Linked DNA regions of Homo sapiens: region 2 is linked to region 1. Evidence: promoter capture Hi-C in human tissues and cell types (Jung and others, 2019). All regions are on one chromosome and are shown on one strand. Each heading gives the region's core, a stretch centred on a gene start or on the middle of the fragment in contact. The rest is flanking DNA. Distances are from core to core; before and after follow the strand shown. Region 1 holds the start of CALCOCO1 (calcium binding and coiled-coil domain 1). Region 2 holds the start of PRR13 (proline rich 13).

The links. Contacts are between HindIII fragments. The study calls those that stand out against the background at their distance.
Region 2: a contact is called between the fragment with the promoter of PRR13 here and the fragment with the promoter of CALCOCO1 in region 1, in 1 of the 25 tissues and cell types used here (spleen).

The regions. Positions count from the first base shown.
Region 1 is chr12:53,725,008-53,728,821 of GRCh38, reverse strand. It overlaps CALCOCO1 (calcium binding and coiled-coil domain 1), which reads left to right and starts at 1,370. Exons shown (of 15, transcript NM_020898.3): 1 at 1,370-1,418; 2 at 3,556-3,735. The coding sequence starts at 3,580. LOC105369774 (a long non-coding RNA gene) reads right to left here and starts at 2,243. Exons shown (of 3, transcript XR_944973.3): 1 at 2,173-2,243. RefSeq lists enhancers at 1,218-1,277, 2,595-3,794. The HindIII fragment of the contact is 5,999 bases long and covers 1-3,814 here.
Region 2 is chr12:53,439,259-53,443,236 of GRCh38, reverse strand. It overlaps PRR13 (proline rich 13), which reads right to left and starts at 1,503. Exons shown (of 4, transcript NM_018457.4): 1 at 1,445-1,503; 2 at 504-542. The coding sequence starts at 522. RefSeq lists a silencer at 1,506-1,655 and enhancers at 1,946-2,035, 1,766-2,531. The HindIII fragment of the contact is 13,829 bases long and covers 1-3,978 here.

The sequences.
Region 1 (3,814 bases), core at 121-2,620:
GCTACCTCCTCATCCAGAAACTGGTTCCCTAACTCATAAATCCTGACTAATGACACAGACACATCACCTTAATGTTTGTGCAGCCCAGTAACTAATTTTTAAGTGCCTGGAGATCTTCAGATGAAAGACACTGAGGGCAGACACCGCATTCAGTCATAAAAGCAAAACACTACCAAAAAACTTGGAAAAGGCAGAAGCTCCATAACTTAGTGCAGTAGAGAATTAAAGCAGGCACCTAGGAAGAGGAAATCAATCCTTAAGACTGTAATCCTTTAATGCAGAGCCAGAGAAAGAGGTAATTCTGAATGCCTCCGACTACAGGGATGGAGAATAGCGAGAGGGGGGACAGGATGCCCAAGTCTATAACGTGACTTGGGGTGTGGGAGACGTGTCAATCTTTCACCTCTCCTAAATAAAAACCGGAACGTCAACATGTATTGTTATCCTAATTAATTTAAGCCACTTAAAAGGCTTGGGCAAACAGGCCCCATAAGTGGCTTGTTTGTGAATTGTGACAGGTCCTGAATTATGCCAAGCTCCCTTTTCAATTTCATTCTTCTCATTCCACCGCTCCTACCACCACCTCAGTCAATTGTATCCTCTTCCTAGACCCAGAAGCCACTCTGGGGGAGCCCAGTCCAGATGTGGATATGGTCAGGCCCCTTAGCACTGAAATCCTCAAGTTGGAAAAAAATGGTCAGCTGTGCAGAAGACATCATTCTTACAAGGTCTGTCCCTGAGATTGAAGTAAAGAAGAAACTGCTATACCCCAGCTATCAGTTTCCCATCCCCAAAATGGTGGGTAGCTGTGGTGTAGTGGCAAGAATATATGACGTGGAATTAGCCAAGGCTAATGCAGTTCTACATTTCATAGCTTTGACACTTCACACCGCCTCCTTAACCGTACTTCACTTTCTACATCTATAAAGCGTGCATAACGCTTAACGCCTATCTCACAGGTGGGTGCGAAAAGTACAGGACGGGACGCAACAGAAACCGCTCTGCCCACCGTTAAAGCGTTATATGGAAGGCTTTAGAGCCGTAAATCCTCCCCAGCCCCCAACAACGCACGTTACAAACCAGCAGCCACCCCTAATGCAGCCGGCCCCCTCCTAAGGGATCATGGGCCTTGAAGTCCTTTGCTGGCCACACCCTCGTTTTCTGTCATAGGAGTGAGAACTACGCCTCCCAGGATGCCGCGGTGAGGCCGCCGTCACGGACGCCCTCTTCCCCGCCCTCCTTGCGCGCAGCCTTCTGGGATGTATAGTCCTAGATCCGAGCACGCAGCGGCAAAAGGGCGCAGAAGAACCACAAACCCCAGAAGCCCTCGCGCCCACTCTTCTCCCTCCCCTCCAGAAGTCGGAGTGCTGTTTTTGTTGTTGGTGAAAGGTGAGGGGAACAGCTGATCCGTCTGTTGGGTAAGAAACTTGGCCTAATTGGGGGCGATCTTATGGGAGGGGAGGGTCACCCCACTTTCCAGTTTGGGGAAGGATAACGTAAGGGAACTGTCGAAGGGGAATACAGGAGCGTTTGGGTTGTAACCCTTTCCGTACTGGAGAAGCCACCCCCGCTGTTTGGGGAGTTCTTGGTTTCAAGGGGACTCTGATTGGGGGTGGGGGGCGCCCCCTCGTCGTCCTCTCCTTCTTCTCAATGCGTCTCTATAAAGCTGATCCCTTCAAGGGAGCTGAAATCTGCTTATTCGCTCCCAGGCAAGACGTGTCCCCTACACGTCTTCCCTCTCTCCCCTACGCAAATCCAAAGGCCTTTACGACGCTGAATCCCTGGGGAGGAAGGGGGACCTTCCAAGGTGTAGAATGTCAAGGAACTCTAGAGCCCTACAGAGTAGGGGATGGGACACCCGCTCTCCGCCCCATCATGTGAACATCTGAATCAGGCTACACACCTACATCTTAGGTGCCCAAAACTTTCTTTCGGACATGAAGAACGTTTACAGCTGTTACGGATTTTCTTTGTGGGGTGTATTTTAGGGTTCTCCAGGTATATCTTTGGGGACAATTTACCCCCACCCTTAGAAAGCTGGAAGAATTGCATTTGGAGAAAACATGGATTAGTTTCAACCAGGAATTTTTCAGGGAGATGAACATTAAAAAAAACTTTTTGTTCTACCTATTTGGGGGACAGAAGTTGCTCCTTTTTGTGTTGCTGGCTCACCTTTATCCACTGAGTTTCTGTTTTCTTTTAAAGTTCCTGTCCCCTGGACTTCAGCCTGGTGTGGGTTTGTGATGTTTGGGGGCGTGCATATGACTAGTGACAATGGCTGGTTGGACATGTCAGCTGTGAGTGACACAGGAAATAGATTAGTGGGCTGGAAAGGAGTGATGAATAAGAGGGCCATCTCACAGCCCTGGACTGAGGAGTTCTTTTGATCGTTATTATTGTTATCTGTCCTCACCCCACCCTCATATTTTCCAATTAACTCTCCCCAGCTAACTTGGAACACCCCTTCCTCTCAACCCCATCCTGTAGTGTGTCTCCAGCTACCAATACAAACAGATGGAAGGATGGAGGCTGAGGGGAGCAGAGAGAAAATGAGGAGAGAAATACTAAAGTGAAACCAGTAGGTTTCTAGTCCTGCTGCAGGCACAGTCTGGAGAGAAGAATGTTAGGTTCTTTTTGAACTATCTCCCCTTTCCTCAACGTTAAATATACATTTCCACTTCTTGGGGCCCCTTACTTCCCACTTTCTAGTCTGTTCCCTGCCCTGGGGTGGGGCTTTCCTGGCTCCAGGCCCCCACATTCCATCTCCCCACCCCCACCACGTTCCTGCTAAGCGCCTCACTCCACCCTTGAAGTTGCCGCCTCCAGAATTCTTGACTTCCTGGAATAATAAGTCAAGGGACAGAACCTGTCTTTCCTTATATCCTCCCCTTCCCTTTGTCTCTTGGATGCCAGCAGAAGCTTTCTGCTTCCCTAGAATTCATGGGGGTAGGCAGCTCAGAGAGATGAAAAGAGCTGAGAGCTCAGGAGCCTAAGGATTTGGGCTCAGTTCCCCTCGACCCCCAGCCATATTCTAGCTCTGAAAACTCAACCATTCCTTTCAGAGATTAGTTGCTGCTTTCTGATGTCATAACTCATTCCTGGATACAGCTGGGTCAACAAGCTTAGGAGTAGGTAAGGACACCTCTCTCAATGAGAGGGCCCCACACCTCAGTTGGATTTTGTATTCAAGAGCCAGGATGTGTGGGAGATGGGATGGAGAAATGGAGGCTGTCGACCAAGTCGCAGTATCCCAGGCTCTGTCCCCGTCAGTGTCCTTTTGGGAGCAAAATTAGAGAAGTCTGAACCCTCAGAAGGGTCTATGAGCCAGAGCGGGTACAGTGTGAGACAGGATGGGGACGGACTTGGAAGGCCAGACCTACGTCCTAGAGACTAAGAGTGATACCTCAAAAATGTCCCGTAACCCTCAGGGACTAGAAACCAGGTATGCCTTATCTCCAGGTGTAGTGGCAGGGGCTGTGAGTGTGTGGTGCTGGAGCTGTGGGGGGAAGGAGGTGGACTGGAAAGACTTTAGGCTATCAACCCTTTCTTTCATAGGAGGACAGATATCTCAAGGCCAGGATGGAAGAATCACCACTAAGCCGGGCACCATCCCGTGGTGGAGTCAACTTTCTCAATGTAGCCCGGACCTACATCCCCAACACCAAGGTGGAATGTCACTACACCCTTCCCCCAGGCACCATGCCCAGTGCCAGTGACTGGATTGGCATCTTCAAGGTATCTCTGGAACCCCTTTTGGCTTAGGTTTATGGGCTGTGAGTTGGTTGGAATAAGGGGAATGATTGGGCTCTTGGAT
Region 2 (3,978 bases), core at 254-2,753, 290 kb after region 1:
GAGAAAAGGGGGAATGTCCCTGGAAGGGCTAGGGAGAGGAGGGAGACAGTGAACTCTGAGGAAGACAAAAGCACTGGTCAGTCCAGGCGCGGTGGCTCACGCCTGTAATCCCAGCACTTTGGGAGGCCGAGGTGGACAGATCTCATGAGGCCATGAGTTTGAGACCAGCCTGGCCAAATTGTGAAACCCCCATCTCTACTAAAAATACAAAAAGTAGCCGGGCGTGATAGCATGCGTCTGTAATCTCAGCTACTCCAGAGGCTGAAACAGGAGAATCGCTTGAACCCAGGAGGCGGAGGTTGCAGTGAGCCTGGGCAACAGAGACTCCATCTCAAAAAATAAATAAATTAAATTAAATTAAAAAGCACTGGTCAGCTCTAGACTAAGGACTTTGCTTTTGCGGGTACAGCAGGTCGGGGGTAGGGGAGCTGATACAGAAACTTCCTGTTATAGAGCCCATCAGAAAAAGGGTTAGGGGTGGAACAGAACCCCCAAACACCTACCGGCATTGGGATTCCACATGTTTAGGTGTGTCCTCCAGCCTGAGGAGAAAGAAATGAGGCAAAAAAGATGACGGTCTAGAGGTAGGAAGTGGACTTAGCACCGGAGCCCAGCCCTAACGTCTTCCACCCCACAGTAGGCTCTCCTACCTGGAGAACTACCACAACTTCCACATAAGAAATGTCTCTTTTCTGGCTGGGCGCGGTGGCTCACGCCTGTAATCCCAGCACTTTGGGAGGCCGAGGCGGGTGGATCACGAGGTCAAGAGTTCGAGACCAGCCTGGCCAACATCGTGAAACCCCGTCTCTACTAAAAATCTAAAAATTAGCCGGGCGCGGTGGCGGGCACCTGTAATCCCAGTTATTCGGGAGGCTGAGTCAGGAAAATTGCTTGAACCCGGGAGGCAGAGGTTGCAGTGAGCCGAGACCGCGCCACTGCACTCTAGCCTGGGCGACGGAGCAAGACACCGTCTCAAAAAGAAAAGAAAAGAAAAGAAATGTCTCTTTCCACTTGTTTCTTCGCCCTCAATACCTACTTGGTTCCTAACACAGGAATCTAGTTCCCAGGGCCCCTCCACCCAGGTGGAAGCGTCTAACTCTTCGGAAGTAGGCAGTACCCGCGAGTCTCGGCCCCACCATCACTCATCTCCCTTTCCCTGGAACTGAGTACGGAGGCCTTTAACCACGCACAGAGTAAGAAAGGATCTCAAACAACTTTCTCTCTCCCTGGGGAGGACCCCACCTCAGGCTAAAAAAAGGATACGCCTCGAGGCGAAGTAAGAAGGAAGTTGCCCAAGAACCTCAAATACTTAAATATGTGGACACAGCCCCCTTCCTCCAAAAAAGAAAAAAGGCAAATGAAGATCCTAGCCCCAAGCTGCGAAGAGACTCTTGACCTAGCAAGGGGAAAAGGAAAAACCTATGGAATCCAGATACCCCATCACCTTTCCACCGCCGCCTGGGCTTGCTGCGTTCTCCTTCGCAGTCTCGGCTCTTCCTAGTCACCCAGACCCCGTGCTTCGGCACCCGCCTCTGCTACTGCCTAATTGGTAATTATGTGGCCGCTCGACTGATGATTAGACAACAAACTAATCAATCACTCTGGTCCGACTGAGGAGGAAACGGTTGCTCTAGGGGCGGAGCGGAGCCCTTTACGGCTAGGCCAGTACCGAGAAGCCGGAAATCTCCTGGGGGCGGGGCTAGGCGGAGAGCGCTGGAGGGGGCGGGGCCAGCTGCTGGGCAAAGTCCTAGAGACACCGAGAAGAAACTCTTCCCTTGCTCTCTTACCTCATGGTTCACTGGGTGCAATACCTTGTAAAATGAATACACTATGGTAAGTGTTGTAATACAGATATAGACAGAGTTCTCGGCAAGGGCAGAAGAGCTGCTGAGTCCCAGCCCCAAGCCTCAATGTTCCCGGCTCCGTCTTACACTCGCAAGGGAAGCAAACAAACATTCTTGCGGAAGATACAGAGATTTCATAATCTCTCCCAGGATTCCCTCTCTCAATTGCATAGCTCCGCCATCTGTCAAGTAGCCTAAACCAGAAACCAAGGAGGGCGTCCGTGATCCCTCTGCCTCCTTCACCTCCCTTACCCCAAATTATCAGTTTTGTCTCTCAAATATATCTGGAATCTCTCCACTTCTCTCTGTCTTCCCTGCTCCAAACCTCCCATCATCTGTCGCCTGGATTCATCTCTCCCCTGAATTGCTACAATGGCCTCCCTACAATGGCCTCCCTTTTTTTTTTTTTTTTTTTTTTTGAGACGGAGTCTCGCTCTGTCACGAGGCTGGAGTGCAGTGGTGCGACCTCGGCTCACTGCAACCTCCGCTTCCCGGGTTCAAGCGATAATCCTGCCTCAGCCTCCGAAGTAGCTGGGACTACAGACGCGGCTAATTTTTCTATTTTTTAGTAGAGATGGGATTTCACCATGTTGGCCAGGATGGTCTCGCTCTCTTGACTTCGTGATCTGCCCGCCTCGGCCTCCCAAAGTGCTGGGATTATAGGCGTGAGCCACCGTACCCAGCCTTTAAAAAAAAAAAAAAAATACAAGTGGCCGGGCGCAGTGGCTCACGCCTGTAATCCCAGCACTTTGGGAGGCCGAGGCAGGCGGATCACAAGGTCAGGAGTTCGAGACCAGCCTGGCCAATATGGTAAAACCCCGTTTCTACTAAAAATACAAAAATTAGCCGGGCGTGGTGACATGTGCCTGTAATCCCAGCCACTTGAGAGGCTGAGGCAGGAGAATCGCTTGAACCCGGGAGGTTGCAGTGAACCGAGATCACGCCATAGCACTCCAGCCTGGGCAACAGAGCGAGACTCCATCTCAAAAAAAAAAAGAAAGAAAGAAAGAAAGAAAGTGAGCTAGGCATGGTGGCACATACCTGTAATCCCAGCTAGTGGGAAGGCTGAGGCATGAGAATCGCTTGAACCTGGGAGGGAGAGGGTGCAGTGAGCCAAGATCATGCCACTGCACTCCAGACTAAGCAACAGAGCAGGACTCTGTTTCAAAAAAAAAAAAAAAAAAAAGTGGGATACAAAAAAATTTAAGACAATAAATTTTATGCCAAATATGTCATATTAAACTAAAGCATTTGAAATATTTTAAACTTTTTTTCTTTTAATTTTTATTTTTAGTGCTGGGGTACATGTGCATGATGTGCAGGTTTGTTACATAGTTAAATGTGTGCCATGCTGGTTTGCTGCACAAATTTTGCTGCACCAATAAACCCATCAGCTAGGTATTAAGCCCAGCATGCATTAGCTATTTTTCCTAATATTCTCACTCCCCTGACCCTACCCCCCAACAGGCCCCAGTGTGTGTTGTTCCCCTCCTTGTGTCCATGTGTTCTTACTGTGTAGCTCCCACTTGAGTGAGAACATGTTCCTGCATGAGTTTGCTGAGGTTAATGGCTTCCAGCTTCATCCATGTCCCTATAAAGGACATGATCTCATTCCTTTTTATGGCTACATAGTATTCCATGGTATATATGTACCACAGTTTTTCAGTCTATTGTTGATGGGCATTTGGATTAATTCCATGTCTTTGCTATTGTGAATAGTGCTACAGTGAACATACACATGCATGTATGTTTGTAATAGAATGATTTATATTCCTTTGGGTATACACCCAGTAATGAGATTGCTGGGTCAAATGGTATTTCTGGTTCTAGATCTTTGAGGAATCGCCACATCGTCTTCCACAATGGTTGAACTAATTTACACTCCCACCAACAGTGTAAAAATGTTCCTATTTCTCCACAACCTTGCCAGCATCTGGATTTTGGTTTTGGGTTTTTTTTTTTTTTTGAGACTGAGTCTTGCTCTGTCGCCCAGGCTGAAGTGCAGTGGCAGGATCTCAGCTCACTGCAACCTCTGCCTCCCGGGTTCAAGCGATTCTCCTGCCTCAGCCTCCCGAGTAGCTAGAATTACAGGTGCCTGCCGCCACACCTGCCATATATATATACATATATATAT